Linked DNA regions of Homo sapiens: all the other regions are linked to region 1. Evidence: promoter capture Hi-C in 16 types of primary human blood cells and fetal thymus (Javierre and others, 2016). All regions are on one chromosome and are shown on one strand. The core of a region is centred on a gene start or on the middle of the fragment in contact, and the rest is flanking DNA. Distances in the headings are between cores, read along the strand shown. Region 1 holds the start of FAM135A (family with sequence similarity 135 member A). Region 2 has its middle 12 kb from the start of MIR30C2. Region 3 overlaps OGFRL1 (opioid growth factor receptor like 1). Region 4 overlaps LMBRD1 (LMBR1 domain containing 1). Region 5 has its middle 58 kb from the start of B3GAT2. Region 6 has its middle 32 kb from the start of COL19A1.

Region 1 (2,794 bases), core at 108-2,607:
AGGCACGGTGTCTTAGGCCTGTAATCCCAGCACTTTGGAAGGCCAAGGCGGGTGGATCACCTAAGGTCAGGAGTTCGAAACCAGCCTGACCAATATGGTGAGACCACGTCTCTACTAACAATACAAAAAGTAGTCAGGCGTGGTGGTGTGCGCCTGTAGTCCCAGCTACTAGGGAGGCTGAGACAGGAGAATTGCTTGAACTCCGGAGGCAGAGGTTGCAGTGAGCCGAGATCACATTACTGCACTCCCGCCTGGGCGACGGAGCAATGCTCTGTCTCACACACACACTCGAAAAAAAAAAAAACTGGTACAAAGATATATTCAAAACCTGTCCCCTAAATGGCCTACGTTACAAGACCTCACCATTACTTTCAAATGAATGCACAAAGCTTTTCCCTTCTAATTCATTCTTATTGTGGTAAAATATACATAACAGAAAATTTACCATTTTAACCATTTTTAAGTGCACAGTTCAGTAGCATTATGTCCATTCATTGTTGTGCAACCAACACCACTATCCATCCTAGATTCATTTTTAAAACAAGAGTCGCAGCTGAAATTTTCCTTTCATTAACTCAGCTTTAGCAACATACTGAACTTTATGCACCACAAAAGTTTTTGCCAGATAAGGTTCAGAAACAGGGAAGAGTGAAATAAATCAATGATCCTTCGTGGGCTTCTGTTAACGGAATGTATTAGCGAAAGGCTTCACTTCATCAGCCCCCTCCCGCCCTTTTTGGCGTCATAAACCAAGAAACAACCAGATCAGCACCCACATCTCCCAAGATGCAAACACTGGGTCCCGAAAGGCATCTGTCCTGCCCCGGCGCAGATCCCCTGCAGCCTCCTTTCCTACTGCACAAATCGACTAGCGCAGGGACCGGGCTCTCTACCCGGGACTGCACGGAGGAGCTAAAGAGAGAAAAGGAGAAACAACATTGTGAGAAAAACGGCTAAAGTTCTCGAACTCCGTGTTTTTGCCCTCTTCTTGTTCACTACTCTTCAACCACCTCCAAGTTCCATCCCTTAAACCCACAAGCGAGCCCCTTTTCTTGACGCGCGCCTTTTATTGACGCAAACCTCCCGTTCTCGCGGGAACTTGGGAACGGGAGCCTGGTAGGGAGGACAAATCTCTCGAAATCTCAGTTGGCGCTGGAGCTGGAGGGGCAGTTGAAGCTCCTGAAGGGCGGGGCACGGAGCTTGAAGGGGCGGGGCCTAGCCTCAGAGAGGGGAGGGAAGAGGCGGGAGGAGGAGGTGAGAGAGGCCGGGGGCGGGGCCGTGCGGCCGGGGACCTGTTGATCGCAGGTATAGCCGGCTGGCCCGGGCTCCCTCGGGACTGGGGCGACTGCGCATGCTCGCTGGCCGCGCTGGGCCAGTAGCCGAGCCGCGGTGACGAACCGGCTCCGCGGTTGCGGTGTTTGCGGTTGCTGTGATGGCGATGTGAGGGGGCCCGGGGCGGGATGGTGCTGACCCGGGTCGGGCCGTCTTCTTGCAGCTGGACAACGAGCTCCTCCGTTCGACAGGCGGGGGAAGAGGCCGAGCCGGGCGAGAGGTAACCCCCTTACTGTCCCCTCTGGCTCCCCCGGCTCCCGACACCCACGACCCCTCCCTCCGTCCCTCTTGCCCAGGGGCCAGGAAGGAAGCGGCCTCCTCTTCGTCCGCCGTTCGCCCGCCGCGGCCCCTCACCCGACTGCTGGCGGTCGGAGCCTGGCCCCGGCCCCGTTGAAGGTCGGTGGGGACGGCGGTGCGGAGCGCTCTGAGGGAGGCGAGGGGCCGCGGCGCGCTGCTCTCCCGGTGCCCGCGGCCGCCCCTGCCCCTGCGCGCGTCCCTCGACCCGTTCTTCCTGAACCTCGCGCCTAGCGTGTTTGCCCTTCACCCCTGCTCCATCTTCGTCGCTCTGTCCCTCCTTTACCCGCTTTCGTGGTTCTGCTTTTTCATCCCGCGCCTCCCACGTGTCTTTTTGCCCGGGTGGTCCCTCCTTGGGAAGCAGCGTATCTCTGTGCTTCCATCCCTTGCCTGGCTCTTCCCTGTCCGGAGCTCCTTACCCTGGCCGACCAGGTTTCTCACTCTTGTTACCTCCATAATTTCTTCCTTGGTTTTATTTTCCTCTCATCCACCTCCTTTCGGTACTTCCTCCTGGTTCCCTTTTTGTTAGTTGCCGATTGTGTTTTGCTTTAGCATCGCTTTGCATTGGAGTTCATTCCATGCCCCATCTTAGCTTCGGAAACCCTCACTGCCTTCTCTTTCCTCTGGTACCCTGCTTCATCGCTTTCTGTCTAATGGCCCCTATCCTCACGTCCTTTTCCATTCTGCACCCAGTGAGTCTCTAATCTTAATTTTTTCCCCTCCAAAACTCTTCCACCCTCCCCCCCCCATTTGTATAAGTCAAGCCTCTTAACTTCATTCCATTTGTTTTACTTTTTATTAAATCTCTGAAGACTTCTTTGTGACATACCCTTCTAGTCCTTGCTGCTTTCTGCCTAAGCTAGGTATCCACTCAATGTTTCTAGTTCATCTTCCAGTTTAATAACATTTCTTCTTTCTTTACCGGTTGGTGGAAGTATCATCAAAAGAGTGACAGTAGCAACAAATCGGTTACACTTACTGATTAAAGCTTTAATTTTTAAGAATTATGTTTACCTGGCATGCCTGGGAAAGCAACTTGAGTACAGACTAAATGAAACTATAATGGGTTAAGACTTGTTAAAGGTTGACCTACAAACATACACTTAAAATTTGGAAATTTTCTTGTCCTCCATTAGGTGTAGCTGTCCAAGAACTAATCTTAAATGAA
Region 2 (2,794 bases), core at 96-2,595, 950 kb after region 1:
TGTGATTGGCTCAATCATACATTTTCGAGTGCCCTTCATCAAATGGCCACATTGTTTTAGACATGCCCTGCTTTACTTATACCTCTATTGTGCAGTAATGAACACAGAACTACTTGGAAAATGCCAACTTAAAATAAAGTAGGCAGTTTGTTGTCCTACTTTGAAAATTATATCCTGTGTAGCATGTTTTGGGGTGTGGTGTATGTGTCTACGATCGCATACAGGTTGTATTCGTTTTTTGGAACATCATGTCACTCTGTGGGCCACATAGGTAGTGGTTAGGAAAATTCACAAGTCTTTTTCCACATGTGATGGTAAGTCACATGTCCCCCATGAAGTCCTTGTGCAATTAGCTGTCTGACTCCAGGAGCTGGACTTCCATATTTATACCAATTCAATTTCTTTGTATCCAACCCTGCCCATCCTTTCAGGCTGCTGAGATTTCACTTGGACCTTGATTCATCTACTGTAACACTGTTTGCTTCTTTTAAAAAATAAATCATAATTCCAACAATGTTTTCATTTTAATAAAAATTAAAATGTGGTGTAGGACAGGATTGAAAGCAGAGTCCTGTTGCTTGCCACCCAAATCCTCCCTCTAAATTGATGATTTTTAAAGCAGTACTTTTAAAGCTATGTGACACACTATTGGTAGACTATAACCCATTTTCTTTTAGCCATTTAACATTTATGCATGCACATCTACCTGAAAATGTAGCCAAATATTTGAGGATCTTATAAAACTTAGGATTTTTATTTCAGATAAATGGGTCAAACAATCTTCTCTTTCAATACACTGTCTTCATTCTTTCCCTGCCTTTCTACCCCCTACCCTAGTCCATTTCTCAAAGAATAAAATCCACATAGGTACCTTTTAATAGGTTCCATTGTTTCATTTGAGTATCACCAGTGTACATAATGTCACATGCTTTCTATTAGCTCTTTCTCAGCATGTATTGGCATTTTAATTTTACCTTAATTTTTTTCTCTTCTCCTTAGGCAGGATAACAATCCATTTGCCAGTTGGCTGCCTGTATGTTCCTAATAATAGACTATGACCTAATCGCAAGTATATTCACTGAACATGGGGGACTTACCACCTACAGTGGGGGCATAAAAAGATTATTTCTAATTAAGATAGCAATGAGAATATTTCATAGGAATTTATCTCCTGTAAAATTCTTCTACAGTAATATACATCCACATAAGCTCAATACAGTGAAAGACCACATTGTTCTAAATGGAAGGTCAATATTTTTTTTAACGAAAGCTTGTCGTATTTAGATTTATATCAAATCCCTGCTCGCAAAACAAATAGAACAACAAAAAGCCTGAACACTTACTGTAATTAAGTAGATATTAGACTAAACACAGGACCTACTGGAAGAGCTACACTTTACACAGGAGTGTAAGTTTCATCTAAGCTTTATTTGCTAGTTGTTATTACCAACAGAAAATGATGATGCTGTTCAAGTCACCAAGAAGGGCTTCATCCCTTTAAGATTCAAAAAAGTTTCATGTCTTTAGATTTTAGAAAAAAATGATATAGCAAAAGTAATCTGTATACTAATTTGTATATTAACTGCAGTGGTGGTTACAAGAATCTATGCATGTAATAACATGGTGTAGAACTACACACACACACACACACACACACACACACACACACACAATTGTACCAATGTCAGTTTCCTGGTCTTGCTACTGTGCTGTAGCAAATGTTGTAAAATGTGACCACTGGGGGAACCTGGGTGAAAGGTACATAGGATCTCTCCAAACAATTTTTGCAACTTCCTATAAATCTATAATTATTTCTAAATTAAAATAAAAACATCCCAATCCTACATAATCTATTCACTGTATAGTTCATCCCAAAAAAGTTAGCTTAGTATCATTTAACCAATATTTGCCAAGGTTAAACATAACTTTATTGCCTTTAGTCATTTCTAGAATGAGGCAGGATTATAAACAAATAATCTACTTTATGAGTCACTGAATGCTTAGGAATTTTGTGATTAAATGAATAAAGTAAACTTATAAAGTGAAAGTAACCAAACAGTCAATTTTCAGCAAGTAAAAGAAAGAGAGAATCCCAACTCTAAAAAATTAGGCCTGCTAATTAAGCGGTTAAAGCCTTCTTTTTGTTTTTTCCATATTACATGAACATGTATTGCCCCATAGGTCATTCCATAATCAAATAATGGAAAAAGCAAGGTTCTCAGAATCTTCTATTCATTTAGTTTCAGGAAGATACTCCTCAGGAAAGACTCAGAGTTGCATGTGATTCTCTGTTGTTCACTGTCATGATAGTCAATGCTATCCAGCTAACCTGTTGAGCATACTCAGCTGGTAGATTGGGAAATCCCCACAATTCTAAATTTAAACATATGAACCCGGATAATTTGGTGTTGTGTACATAAAGTGATTTTATATATATATGAAACCGACCCAATAGTCCCCTAGACAGTTTTTTTTGGATAAACATAGAAATTGCCCATCTGGTTTTAAAATTTGAAACTTACATTTGTTTTATCAGAGTTCCTTCCTCAGGAAACCACATTCAGACCTCTCAAAAGAAAAAGAAAATTAAAGAACTGAAACTCACCAGATCACCACATCCAGACAATGAGATGCCAGACCCTTCATTCATCATGATTGCTTCGTTACCCCTCCTCTCTAGTTCTTGTTTTCTTACACATTGTTACATAGCAGGGAAGACCCTGCTATATAAACCCCTAGTTTTAGTTGGTCAGGGAGATGGATTTGGGACTGAGCTCCCATCTCCTTGGCTGCA
Region 3 (2,794 bases), core at 112-2,611, 880 kb after region 1:
TCCTAGGATATTTTCCAAACCCATAGTGAGAAGATGCAGCTGCTATGGTAATATGACCACAACATTGCATATTTCATTGAGGCATCATGCTGTGGTTCATGGTGGTCATCCTAATTTTATCCAGGTCACCCTAGGAAAGCTGGCTTCTCTCCCAAGAGCCCTTTTCTGTGTGAGGTGGTCAGACTGCCCTGGCTTCTGCTATTTGCTCTCAGTGGAAACTGAGCCAGTTCCACAGCAGTGTGAGTCACAGAAGGAAGGAGATAGACTGCAAGGCTTTCAAGTGGCAGGACCTTGCATTCTTTGGTGAACTAACTCGAGGCAAGAGGTCTAAAGCCTGGATTGAGTTTGGGAGGAGGGAGTCCCAGTACTGTGTACCAACAGACCTACCAGTTGGGAGTTAATATTTGAGAACATCGTTGACGTGGCCAGATCTACTTGTCTTTAACTTTCTGGTGTCCTGAAAGTCTGCTGTGATGTGGAATGAAACCTCTGGATAAAATTGCACAGTTATATTTACTAATGATAGAAATGTGCTGCTTTATTTACTAATGGAAAAATATTGGCCAAATTATTCATTTTGTTAGGACTTGGGGTAGAAAAATATTTTGAAGAAATGCAATGATAGATTGTTAATTTGAGTCTGATTTGAATTTCATACAATTTTCCTAAAGGAATGCCTTCACATATTAAAAATATTAAACATAAAGCTATGATAGTATTTAACTCTATTTTTTTCTACTAGGGAATTTATTTTGTAAATATTAATTTAAAAAGTAATTTCAAGCAATATATTGAATTTTTGGTAATCTTTACTACAAAGTTTATTTTGAAATCTTATGATTGGTGGGGGTCAGAAGTTTTAGCTAAGGTCAGATAAAATGTTTATCCTAGTTTATTATACAAATTATATCAACTCACTTTCCTCCCTAGTATACACACACACGCACACACGCACACACACACTACTTGCCAGTAAGCATAATCTTGCAATGGTATTTATTTATCAGGCAGGAGGAGTGGTAGTTGGAAAGGAAAACAAATGGAAAATTACAGAGGTAAATGGTTTCAACATGCCAATAAAGCCAACATTATGATTCAAAACAACTTTTTACCAAACCTTCCGAGAGTGGGCCTCTACTACAAACTGGTGATCTCTGGAGGAAACAAGAATGAGATGAGTTATGTTCGGAGAAATATTATATTGCTATTTTATTTTCTACAACATTGACTAAATGGCTAGTCAATTGTAAGGACCTTGACAGACTTAGGAACAGGAGGATTTTGTTTTTGTAAGTTCTTGTAGAGGAAAAGTGGACAGGGTGAAAAGGGCTTACTTCTTGGAACCAGAAAGACCTATGTTGCACTCAAGATTTACTTTTTTACTAGTGTGTAACTTTGAACAAATCTCCCAGTTTCTTCATTGTTAAAATGAGGATCATAACACTGGCAGCATTCTGTGAAGACTAAGCTGGAAAATGTGCGCTCTGTGTAATATGGGCACAGCATGTAGTAAGCACTTACAACTTTTTCCTACATTTTTCTTTTCTCGTTTTCCTTCTCCTTTGTTTTCTCCTTCTCATTTCTTTTCTTCTATTTCTACTCCCCTTTCTTTCTTTTTCCCTAGGATGCAATTCATTTTGATCCAATTTAGCATTTAAAGAACTATATAACTCCTAGGACTGGGATTGGCAAACTTTCTATACAGGGGCAAATAGTAAATATTTTGGGCTTTGGGGGACAGTGGGTCTGTATTGCAACTACACAGCTCTGCTACTGTAGTACAAAAACTGCCATAGACAGTACATAAATGAATGTGCATAGCTATATTCCAATAAAACTTTATTTAAAAAACAGCTGGCAGGCCACAGTTTGCCAAGCTCTGCTTTAGAGTACATTGTCCAACAAAGCCTTGTGCAATTTGAGGTGCTATTAATTTTTTTTAATTAGATTTATCACATAACCGAATATATGGGCATAGGGTATTCATCTTTTTAAAAGCACTATTCTTGTGTGCTATTATTAAATTTAAACAAGTTTTCATATAAAACTCAAGTGATTCGAATCTTAAAATGCCTTCACAATGTTTGAAATGTCTGGTTCATTTTTAAATATTTACTATTTAGGTGTTTACATTGAAGAAGTTCTAAGTAAATGGAAAGGAGATTATGAAAAACTGGAGCACAACCACACTTACATTCAATGGTCAGTTACATATTATCTATCTTGAACCATGTCCTATTTAATCATGTATGTTTTCCAGACAACGTTAATAGAAAAATTTTATTTTTTTAAAATAAATAGGCTTTTCCCCCTGAGAGAACAAGGCTTGAACTTCTATGCCAAAGAACTAACTACATATGAAATTGAGGTAATGCAAGCTCATTTCATTTTATACAGGGTGGCCAAATAATATTGCTATTTCACTGTCCTTGTAGCTACTGAATCATTTCAGGTGACTTTTTTCATTTTTTATATTAGGAATTCAAAAAAACAAAAGAAGCAATTAGAAGATTCCTCCTGGCTTATAAAATGATGCTAGAATTTTTTGGAATAAAACTGACTGATAAAACTGGAAATGTTGCTCGGGCTGTTAACTGGCAGGAAAGATTTCAGCATCTGAATGAGTAAGTAAAGCCCCTGTGATAAATCAGGGGCCAGCACAGTTATTTTCCCTTGGTCAGAGTTCTCTATGAAACGCAGGAACAACTAGCAGATGAGATGGGCCCAGGAATTTGGATTAAAAAGCTAGTCTGAAATGCATTACATTCCTGTACCACATTCTAAAACAAAACAA
Region 4 (2,794 bases), core at 172-2,671, 630 kb before region 1:
AAAGCCACCAGTCACTTCTCTACCCCATTCACTTCACCTCTCAACACCACTGAAAAAAGCTATCATTCTTTCTTCCTGAAACACATTATTCTGATTTCCATAAAGCCTCCCTCTTCTGTTTTTCTTATCTCTCAGGTTGCAGATTCTCCCCTTCAGCTGACCTTCTACACGATAGAGAACTCCAGTCCTCGGTCCAGTGTCAAGGCTTCTCTGACTACTCAGTCTTCCCAGCTGCTAGTCAGTCCATAACTGTAGATATCATCCATATGTTGCTTCCCAAATACTTCTCTCCAGCCCTAAGCTCTTCACAGAGCTTCAACTCCCTACTTAACACCTCCACCTGGATAGATAGTACAGTACACACTTTAAAGGTAGCCTGTCCGAACTATAACTCTTTTCTCTACACCCCCTCACTTGCCCATGCACATGCCCTCTTATTCCTCTAAGTTTCCCTATTTCTCTAAGGTATACAAAAACCTAGGCATCAGTGCTCCAATTTTCTTTTTCTTTCACCTGTCCCCCTATATCTAATCTATCAGCAGATCCCAGCAGCTCTACCTCTAAAATACATGCCAATTTTAATCATTTTTCTCTACTAGCACCACTCTAGCCCAAGTCACCTTTATCTTTTACCTTCATTAACTTCATATTGCAGTTAGGAGAAAATCTAAACTTATTAATATGACTTAAAAGTCATGAACAGTCTGGCTCCTGCCTTATTCTGGATCTCAGCTTTTACCAAAGCAAAACCCTCAACAATACATGTCAGCCAAATAAGCCAAGTTCATCCTGGCCTAAAGGCCTCTATATTTGCTGCTGCTTCTCCCTAAAGGCTCTCTCCCTCTGGCTCTTTACTAGATTGGCTCCTCATCCAGGTATCATGGCAAGAAACCTCAGCAGTTTTGCCTTCCTATCCCCCTCTCCAAAACACTCATAACCTGACTAGACTCTCATATCAATCTATTTCCTCATAGAATTTATCACTATAAAGTTACCTTATCTTATTTGTTGATTATTGATCTGGCCTTGCAGACTAAGCTCCATGAGAAAAGCAACCTCATTTGCCTTAATGATTAATCTCCAGTACCTACAATTGTCAGGCACATACTATATATTTAGTAAATATTAAGTAAATAAACATATTTAAGGTTCAATAAAGAGCACAAAGTTCTAAGATACAGTTCCCACCATTTGAAAATAGGAATGAGGGAGCAGTAGAGTTTAGCCCAGACATCTAATAACAGTCCATAAAGATATTCATAATTAGGGAACAGGAGTAAGATATGAACAAACACCAAAACATTAAATGTTTTCATGACATACCTTAATATTAACTAATTTTTTTATTTTTACATGTTGTGTAAAAGAAAGAATATTTATTCATATTAGTGTCGATTTCTTTTTTTTTTTACTATTGGATCAGTATATTTCATGTATATCCCCATCCAATGTTACTGGCCAACTATCAAAGACTGTTAAAGACAGCACTTCCAGCTGTACTCTAAAAGGTTCTCTTCTGTTATCTAAAAAGTTAATTACTTTAGAAAAGAAGCTAGAAACAAATTATCTAGCTAAAATTATTAATAATGCCATATGCTGAAAGAAAGGTCAACAGAAACAACTCAGGCATTATAATATACCCCTGCCATAAGAAGGCAGAGAAAGCTAGAAGGGTAACTAAAACAAAAATAAAGAAACTAGCAATGACTGCCTGCTCACAGAAAAGCCTGGGCACCTTCTGTTTTTAAGAAAAATGTTAGCAATCATTAATATGTAGAGTTTCCAAATAATTATACCTTAGAAGACAAGTCCATAATTAGAGAGAGGCTTCAAAATATTTGAGGTGGAAGTAGAGAAAGTTAGAGAATGTATATATTCATTTAGGAATTTCAAATGCACACTGTAAATATTATTATACATTAGCATTCATCATGGAAAACAATGTCAACTTGTACATTCATCTTTACAAACAAGGTTGGAATAGACCAAAACCACGTTGGCATCCTTTTTACTCTGACTACATTTACAATCGTGGCATGAAGTTTGAAGAATTAATTCTTAAATACTTAAACTTATCTTTCACTAGGCACCTGAATTCAGTAATAACTTTAGGAAAAACTACTGTCTAGAGTTTATCAGGAAAATGTTTTCAAAAATTTTTTCAGTACTACTTTTGAGAGTCAGCAAATAGTCCAGTTTCAAATAAAAACTCATGAATTTCACTAATCCTCACCGAGCCGCCCAAAATGAGAAGGGAAAATACAGACACACAGAATGTTTCAAGGTATCAAAAAAACTACCAAGAAAAATCTGATACATTATCTAAGTTAAAAGCAAACAGAACTAGAGACAACTTAATAATGAAAAGTAGGAAAGGCCAGTCACAGGGGCTCATGGCTGTAATCCCAGCACTTTGGGAGGCCAAGACGGGTGGATCACCTGAGATCAGGAGTTCAAGACCAGCCTGGCCAACATGGTGAAACCCCATCTCTACTAAAAATACAAAAAATTGGCTGGGCATGGCGGTGTGCATCTGTAATCCCAGATACTCAGGAAGCTCTGGCAGAAGAATCGCTTGAACCCAGGAGGCGGAGGTTGCAGTGAAACTCCGTCTCAAAAAAAGAAAAGTAGAAAAAAACAAGAACCAACAACTGATGAATAACTAATATCCTAATAATGAAACAAAGTTTTAAAAAAGTAGAGGGAAAAGTTTTAACAGATATTTTCCCCTTCTAAATATTAGTGTAACATTTAGATTTAACAAATATAGTGTGTTAACTACAGCCATATTTTT
Region 5 (2,794 bases), core at 99-2,598, 600 kb after region 1:
TAGCCATTAACATTTTTCTCTTATTTCACTTTAATGGGATTATCCTTATTGATAATGCTAAATATTTACTTGGGCCTTCAACAAGGGGTGTGTGTGTGTGTGTGTGTGTGTGTGTCTGTGTCTGTGAAATTGTCCTATAACCAGCAATTTCAGATGAATGAGTATAAAGTGCTTCAGGCACTTGGACTAAAGCTGGTTCCTAAAAGCTTGCTGCACAGGGTCCATTGTCAAAGGAAGAAAAACTGGTGTTGGAGGCTGCCTGCCATGCTGGGTTGATTATTGGGATTTCACACTCTGTTCTGTGGGGACAAGAACCATCCAACTCTGGAAGGATTGACATCTGGAGAATCTGGCAAGTTAGGGAAGGGACATGAGGAAAAACTATAGTTTAAAAAATTTTAATGTTATAGATAGGACTGTAAAAAGCCAGGAGTATGATAACAGGAGTTCTTCAATTTTAGGTAAAAAATTTATTTAAAAAATTTCCCAGCTTTAGTGAGGTATAATTGACAAATAAAACTTGTATATATTTACAATGTACAATGTAATGTTTTGAAATATGTGTATGTTGTGAAATGATTGATCAAGCTAATTCACATATATATTATCTCACGGAGTTATGTTTTGTGGTGAGAACATTTAAGATAATCTCTCAGCAGTTTTCAAGTATATAATATTTTTAAAAGTATATGTTATTATTGTTTATAGTCACCATACTGTACAATAGATCTCCAGAATTTATTCATCCCAACTGAAATTTTGTATTCTTTGACCAATATCTCCCCATCACAGCCCCTTCCCCAACTTATTTATTTCGGATTTGATTTGCAGAGCGATTGATAGACTTCTATGTTTCAGACACTGAAGTAACTAAGATGAGTAAGACAAGCTTCCTGCATGTGAGATACTTCTTCTTAAGTAATGGAGAAGAAACTTGGGTAATTACCATTAGTATGAAGAGAAATAGCTGATAAATAGTCTTTAGAGCAGTAGTTCTCAAACACAAACGTGCATTAGAATCACCTGCAGGGTTTGTTAAACTACCGATTGCTGTGACCACGCCCAGAGGTTTGGCTTCAGTAGGTCTTCGGTGGGTTCTGAGAATTTGCATTTCTAACAAGCTCCAGGTGATACTGATGGTTTGTCTACCACTATTTTAGAGGGGGGTGGTGGTGGGTAGGGAAGGCTTCAAGGAGGAGTGACAACTCTGCTAGGACTGGTAATAAATATTAAGAGTTTGGTAATGGAGAGGGGGCATGAGCATGCCAGGCAGAGAACGGCATGAGAAGATACATCCGGGAATGAGTGAGCCATTCAGGGACACTAAAGTTCCAGGCACACGGGGAAGAGCAGGGAGATGAGGCCCAAATTGCAGGCCAGGGCATTTCTCAAGGGCCTTGAGTGCTGGGTTAAGAGTCAGGACATTGCCCCATGAACAATGTGGAACCATTAGAGGTTTTTCAGAAGAGTGACATGATCAGATTTGTTTCCTAGACAGGAAATTGTTTACCATTTGAAGAGAGGAGAACCAGAGGCAGGAAAAGCAATTAGGAAGCTGTTTCAATGGTCCAGGTGATAGATATTAGGGGCTTTAACTGAGCTGATGGAGGTAGGAATGAACACACAAAAACAAATGAGAAAGAGATTTAGGAGGTAGGATCAATTGTAATTAGGGACAGAGAAAGAGGAACTGAGGTCCATGATGTAATGCTGGGGTGCCTGAATGGAAAGTCTTAGTGTAAGTTGAGATACTATAAGATAAAAAGTCATTTTTGGAGGAAAATAGTTAAATTGATTTTGGAAAGAATAAGCTTGAAGTGTTGTTTAAAAAAAAAAAAAAGAAAAGAAAAATGGGGACAGGTTGGCAGCACCTGTGTTAAGCCAGAATTGAACTAATGAACTAGTGATGGAATTAAGGTTTATATTCATCCTTTAAATGTTAAGCCATGAAAAGATGGACTCACATTTTTTTTTCTTATTATTTCAACATAGCCAATTGAAATTGGGAGTTCATGTAGTCAGGGCTACATAAAAAATTATTCTATCCACTACTCATACACATCCTATGTATAATGTGCTTAAAACATGATTAGAGAGATGAAACAAGGACACTTGAAATGATAAGAAGATTAGACTTTAAGTACATATTAAGTGAGTGATGTGGATGAGCGAGATTATTTCCAGTTAAAACATTCAGAGAAAGCTTCAACATCTTTCCCTTCTTCTTTATTACCTACCTCTTTTCTCTGACGCTCATCAATCAGGTATCTTTACCCCCTTGTTCATGCCCTTTGGCTAGCAGAAGGGCTGAGCAGAAAATTTCATAGAAACATAATGAAGATGTGTTAAGAGGCCCAGGAGATTCTCAATGGCAGGGAGTTAGAGGGCAGGTCAGAGACAGCAGTGTATCTCAATTTTAACGTGCACGGAATCACCTGGAAATCTAGTTAAAATGCAGATTCTGATTTGCCAGTGGGGCCTGAGATTCTGCATTTCAATCAAGCTCTCAAGTGATGCCTCTGTGCTGCTGGTCTGTGGACCATACTGAGTAGCAAGGTGCTAGGGCATTTTCGGCCCACGTGGTTGAAACTATTGGCTGTGGAGTTAGACAGATTCGAGACAGAATATTGCCTCTGTCAGTTATTAGGTGGTTAACCTTGGGCAGGTTATTAAACCTCAATCTAAGTTTTATCTTCTGTAATAATAATATCTTACTTATGGGGTTGATAATGTCAATGTTCTTTCTGACACCCATGGTATCCTTGAAGGATGGCTTTTATGCCATTTTCAGGGG
Region 6 (2,794 bases), core at 174-2,673, 580 kb before region 1:
TGTCTGGTCACTCTCTAATAGCAAATCAACATTGATAGACAAGATTCCATGTAATTCAAGACTTGGATTGTTTCTATCATTATAAAATGCACATTTAACATGGAACACTTTTGTAGTTTCAAGATATCATTGGTAATTCATTAACATTTTTACTAATAGAAAGTTGCTTTTCCCAGAGAAATTTAGAATTAGAGACAAATTCCCTCTAGCAATAACCAGAGACAAAACCAACTTAAGAAAAACAAGACAAAAAAAGAGAAGTTCCTTGGCCAGGCAAGGTGGATCACGCCTGTAATCCCAACACTTTGGGAGGCCTAGGCAGGTGGATCGCTTGAGCACAGGAGTTCAAGACCAGCCTGGGAAACATAGTGAGACCTTGTCTTTATTTTTTTTAATTTAAAAAATTATATAAAAAAAGAGTAGTTCCCAAAACATAGTATAATTGGCCCTCTGTATTCATGGGATCCATGTCCTTGGAATTAACCAATGATGGATCAAAATATTTGCATCTGTACTGAACTTATACTGACTTTTTTTCTTGCCATTATTCCCTAAGGAACACAGTCTAACAACTACTCACATAGCATTTACACTGTATCAGCTATTATAAGTAATCTATGGGAGATTTAAAGTATACAGGAGAATGTGCATAAGCGATATGCAAATAGTAGCCCATTTTATTTCAGGGACTTGAGCGTCCTCAGATTTTGGTATCTGAGGGAGGCCCTGGAACTAATCTCCCATAGATACCAAGGGATGATTGTACCTGTTTTAGGATTCTTTCTCATCAGATATTGTAAGCTTATTCATCATGATCTCAAGAGAAACAACTTTAGATGATTGATCAAAGTTCCATGTGTTTGTGCATTTGTTTCTCTATCAATGTGGCCTAATTGTCTTATCTACCAACTGCTGCAGTAATTCCATAAAGATTCGATCCCCCTCAACTTTTATTTGCTTTTCTCTTTAACTTTTGTATTTCTAATGATTCTAAGAAATTTGCCCTTTTGGAGTATTCACCGCACAGGAGCACTATAGTTCATATATTAGTTTTGAATTTTTTATCTAGATGAGTAAAAATAAAAAAGTAGAAACCTTTAGGCAGTTATATATTCAGAGACTGTTTCTGTATTGTAGAAAACCATAAGATAAGAGCAATTTTGTTTTGGAGAAAAGAATATATATTTACAAATTAATTACCTTTTTAAAAAAACATATTAGGTAACTTTGCAAAGTAAGATATATATGCTCCTATTTGTAAATTGGTTAACAAATAGCTTAAATCCTTGACATTTCAAATGTTTGCATTGAGTCCCAAAAACCAATTTGAAAATAAAAAGCATAATTAAATCTGCCAATTTTATTCAAATGTCCAAAACATTCTAGTTGAATTTTGACAGAGGTGATCATTCCACATTTTGTACCTTACTAAAACTCAGAGTTGTCTTATCTGGAAAGCCAGTGATTTGACAATTTTCCTCTTGCTCCCCTAAATTTGCTTTCTTATTGTCTGATAGGTGCACTTTTTACCCAGAAGTGGCTCAGTAATGCTTGCTTTGGATTACAGTCCTAAGCAATATTTTTGAAAAGATTGGAAATAAAATTTCTATAGAAACTAACAATATGATACAATGTTGAAAGGTTGGAACTGGACTAAGGGGATTATTTAAGAACAACTGATAAATGTGTTGAATCCTCTTCAGAACAGTGTATGGTTGGGTCAGTTGGGATGAGACTAATTCTTCAGGGTGTTGTAGAAGTGGCTATACTGAAGGATGCTTTATTTTGCCCTTCATCAGGTTCAGTATTGCCTAATTATGTTTTAGCTCTTGAGAAGTGTCAAATGGCCTGAATACTAAGACTTCGCTGCTCCCAGTAGCCACTGAATCCTGGCATTGGGTAGTTAAATATTTTCCTAGAGTAATAAACACATTTTCAACTACACGGCAAGAAGAAAAAAATAAACCAGAAGTTTAATTAAGTATAGGTAGAACAATTAAGGAATAGAAAAATATAGGTTAAAGCACTTAAAGTGGCCTCTTACATAAAGCTTGTTGATAATAGGTGATATATTAAACAGTGTTTTGAGATACTACTGTCCTACATAAATTTAAAGTATTATAATTTTGAAGCATTGATGACATTTTTCAATGTGAAACTTCCAAAGATTTTTGTCAGAATAATCAAAAGTGATTACTCTTTTTGTAGCTAATAAATATTTTTAAAGGTTATGTAGGAATATAACATGAATACTATGGTGAGTTGTCAAGCATGAAGGATGTCTTTTTATGAACAAAATTCCAGTTAACTAAATCAATCTGTGTTCTCATTCTTTTAAAAACCCTTGTAAAATTTTATTTCCTTTCTTTTAATTATTTCTAAATAGTTACACATGCACAATAAACTCAACTGGAGGAATATTTAAATTGACCAAAAAGGGCAGTACAAATGATTAGCTGAAATGTATAATGTAATCTTTAAGCCGTGAAAAAATGCAGATAGCAAAAACATTTTGTTTTAAAATATTTTCCATTCAATACTAAAAGATACTTTTGGTATTAAAACTGTTAACTGGAATCTTGTTCTTTTTATAAAATACTGATTTTATTAAAATTAGATTGTTTCTAAAATACACTGGAGTTCATTATACACCAAGATTACACTTACTGCGAATTTATGCTGCTGATTCATAAGCACCAGAGAACGAAGTTCATAATGAAACCACTGACATCATTGTGTTTAAATGTACATAAACCTTTGCTATTATGATCTGTTTTATATTTCATATTTACCT

Evidence for each region. Contacts are between HindIII fragments. The CHiCAGO score rates a contact against its expected background, and 5 or more counts as called.
Region 2: a fragment that was not itself captured here is called in contact with the fragment with the promoter of FAM135A in region 1 in 1 of 17 cell types (total B cells); the score reaches 8.4 in total B cells.
Region 3: a contact is called between a fragment that was not itself captured here and the fragment with the promoter of FAM135A in region 1, in 1 of 17 cell types (fetal thymus). The highest score is 5.4, in fetal thymus.
Region 4: a contact is called between a fragment that was not itself captured here and the fragment with the promoter of FAM135A in region 1, in 1 of 17 cell types (activated CD4 T cells). The highest score is 5.8, in activated CD4 T cells.
Region 5: a contact is called between a fragment that was not itself captured here and the fragment with the promoter of FAM135A in region 1, in 1 of 17 cell types (M2 macrophages). The highest score is 5.3, in M2 macrophages.
Region 6: a contact is called between a fragment that was not itself captured here and the fragment with the promoter of FAM135A in region 1, in 1 of 17 cell types (non-activated CD4 T cells). The highest score is 5.6, in non-activated CD4 T cells.

The regions. Positions count from the first base shown.
Region 1 is chr6:70,412,151-70,414,944 of GRCh38, forward strand. FAM135A (family with sequence similarity 135 member A) reads left to right here and starts at 1,358. Exons shown (of 22, transcript NM_001162529.3): 1 at 1,358-1,552. FAM135A-AS1 (FAM135A antisense RNA 1) reads right to left here and starts at 1,808. Exons shown (of 2, transcript NR_147708.1): 1 at 1,687-1,808; 2 at 678-912. RefSeq lists silencers at 1,165-1,384, 1,725-1,874. The HindIII fragment of the contact is 2,225 bases long and covers 388-2,612 here.
Region 2 is chr6:71,364,058-71,366,851 of GRCh38, forward strand. No RefSeq gene overlaps it. Among named protein-coding and RNA genes, the nearest start is that of MIR30C2, 12 kb to the right of the region's middle. The HindIII fragment of the contact is 154 bases long and covers 1,269-1,422 here.
Region 3 is chr6:71,294,194-71,296,987 of GRCh38, forward strand. OGFRL1 (opioid growth factor receptor like 1) reads left to right here. Exons shown (of 7, transcript NM_024576.5): 4 at 2,124-2,202; 5 at 2,302-2,368; 6 at 2,479-2,624. All of the region lies in intron 3 of LOC124901339 (a long non-coding RNA gene), which reads right to left. Among named protein-coding and RNA genes, the nearest start is that of OGFRL1, 6.8 kb to the left of the region's middle. The HindIII fragment of the contact is 3,243 bases long and covers 1-2,794 here.
Region 4 is chr6:69,785,088-69,787,881 of GRCh38, forward strand. All of the region lies in intron 2 of LMBRD1 (LMBR1 domain containing 1), which reads right to left. Among named protein-coding and RNA genes, the nearest start is that of LMBRD1, 11 kb to the right of the region's middle. The HindIII fragment of the contact is 6,423 bases long and covers 1-2,794 here.
Region 5 is chr6:71,013,899-71,016,692 of GRCh38, forward strand. No RefSeq gene overlaps it. Among named protein-coding and RNA genes, the nearest start is that of B3GAT2, 58 kb to the left of the region's middle. The HindIII fragment of the contact is 922 bases long and covers 888-1,809 here.
Region 6 is chr6:69,832,883-69,835,676 of GRCh38, forward strand. No RefSeq gene overlaps it. Among named protein-coding and RNA genes, the nearest start is that of COL19A1, 32 kb to the right of the region's middle. The HindIII fragment of the contact is 1,249 bases long and covers 800-2,048 here.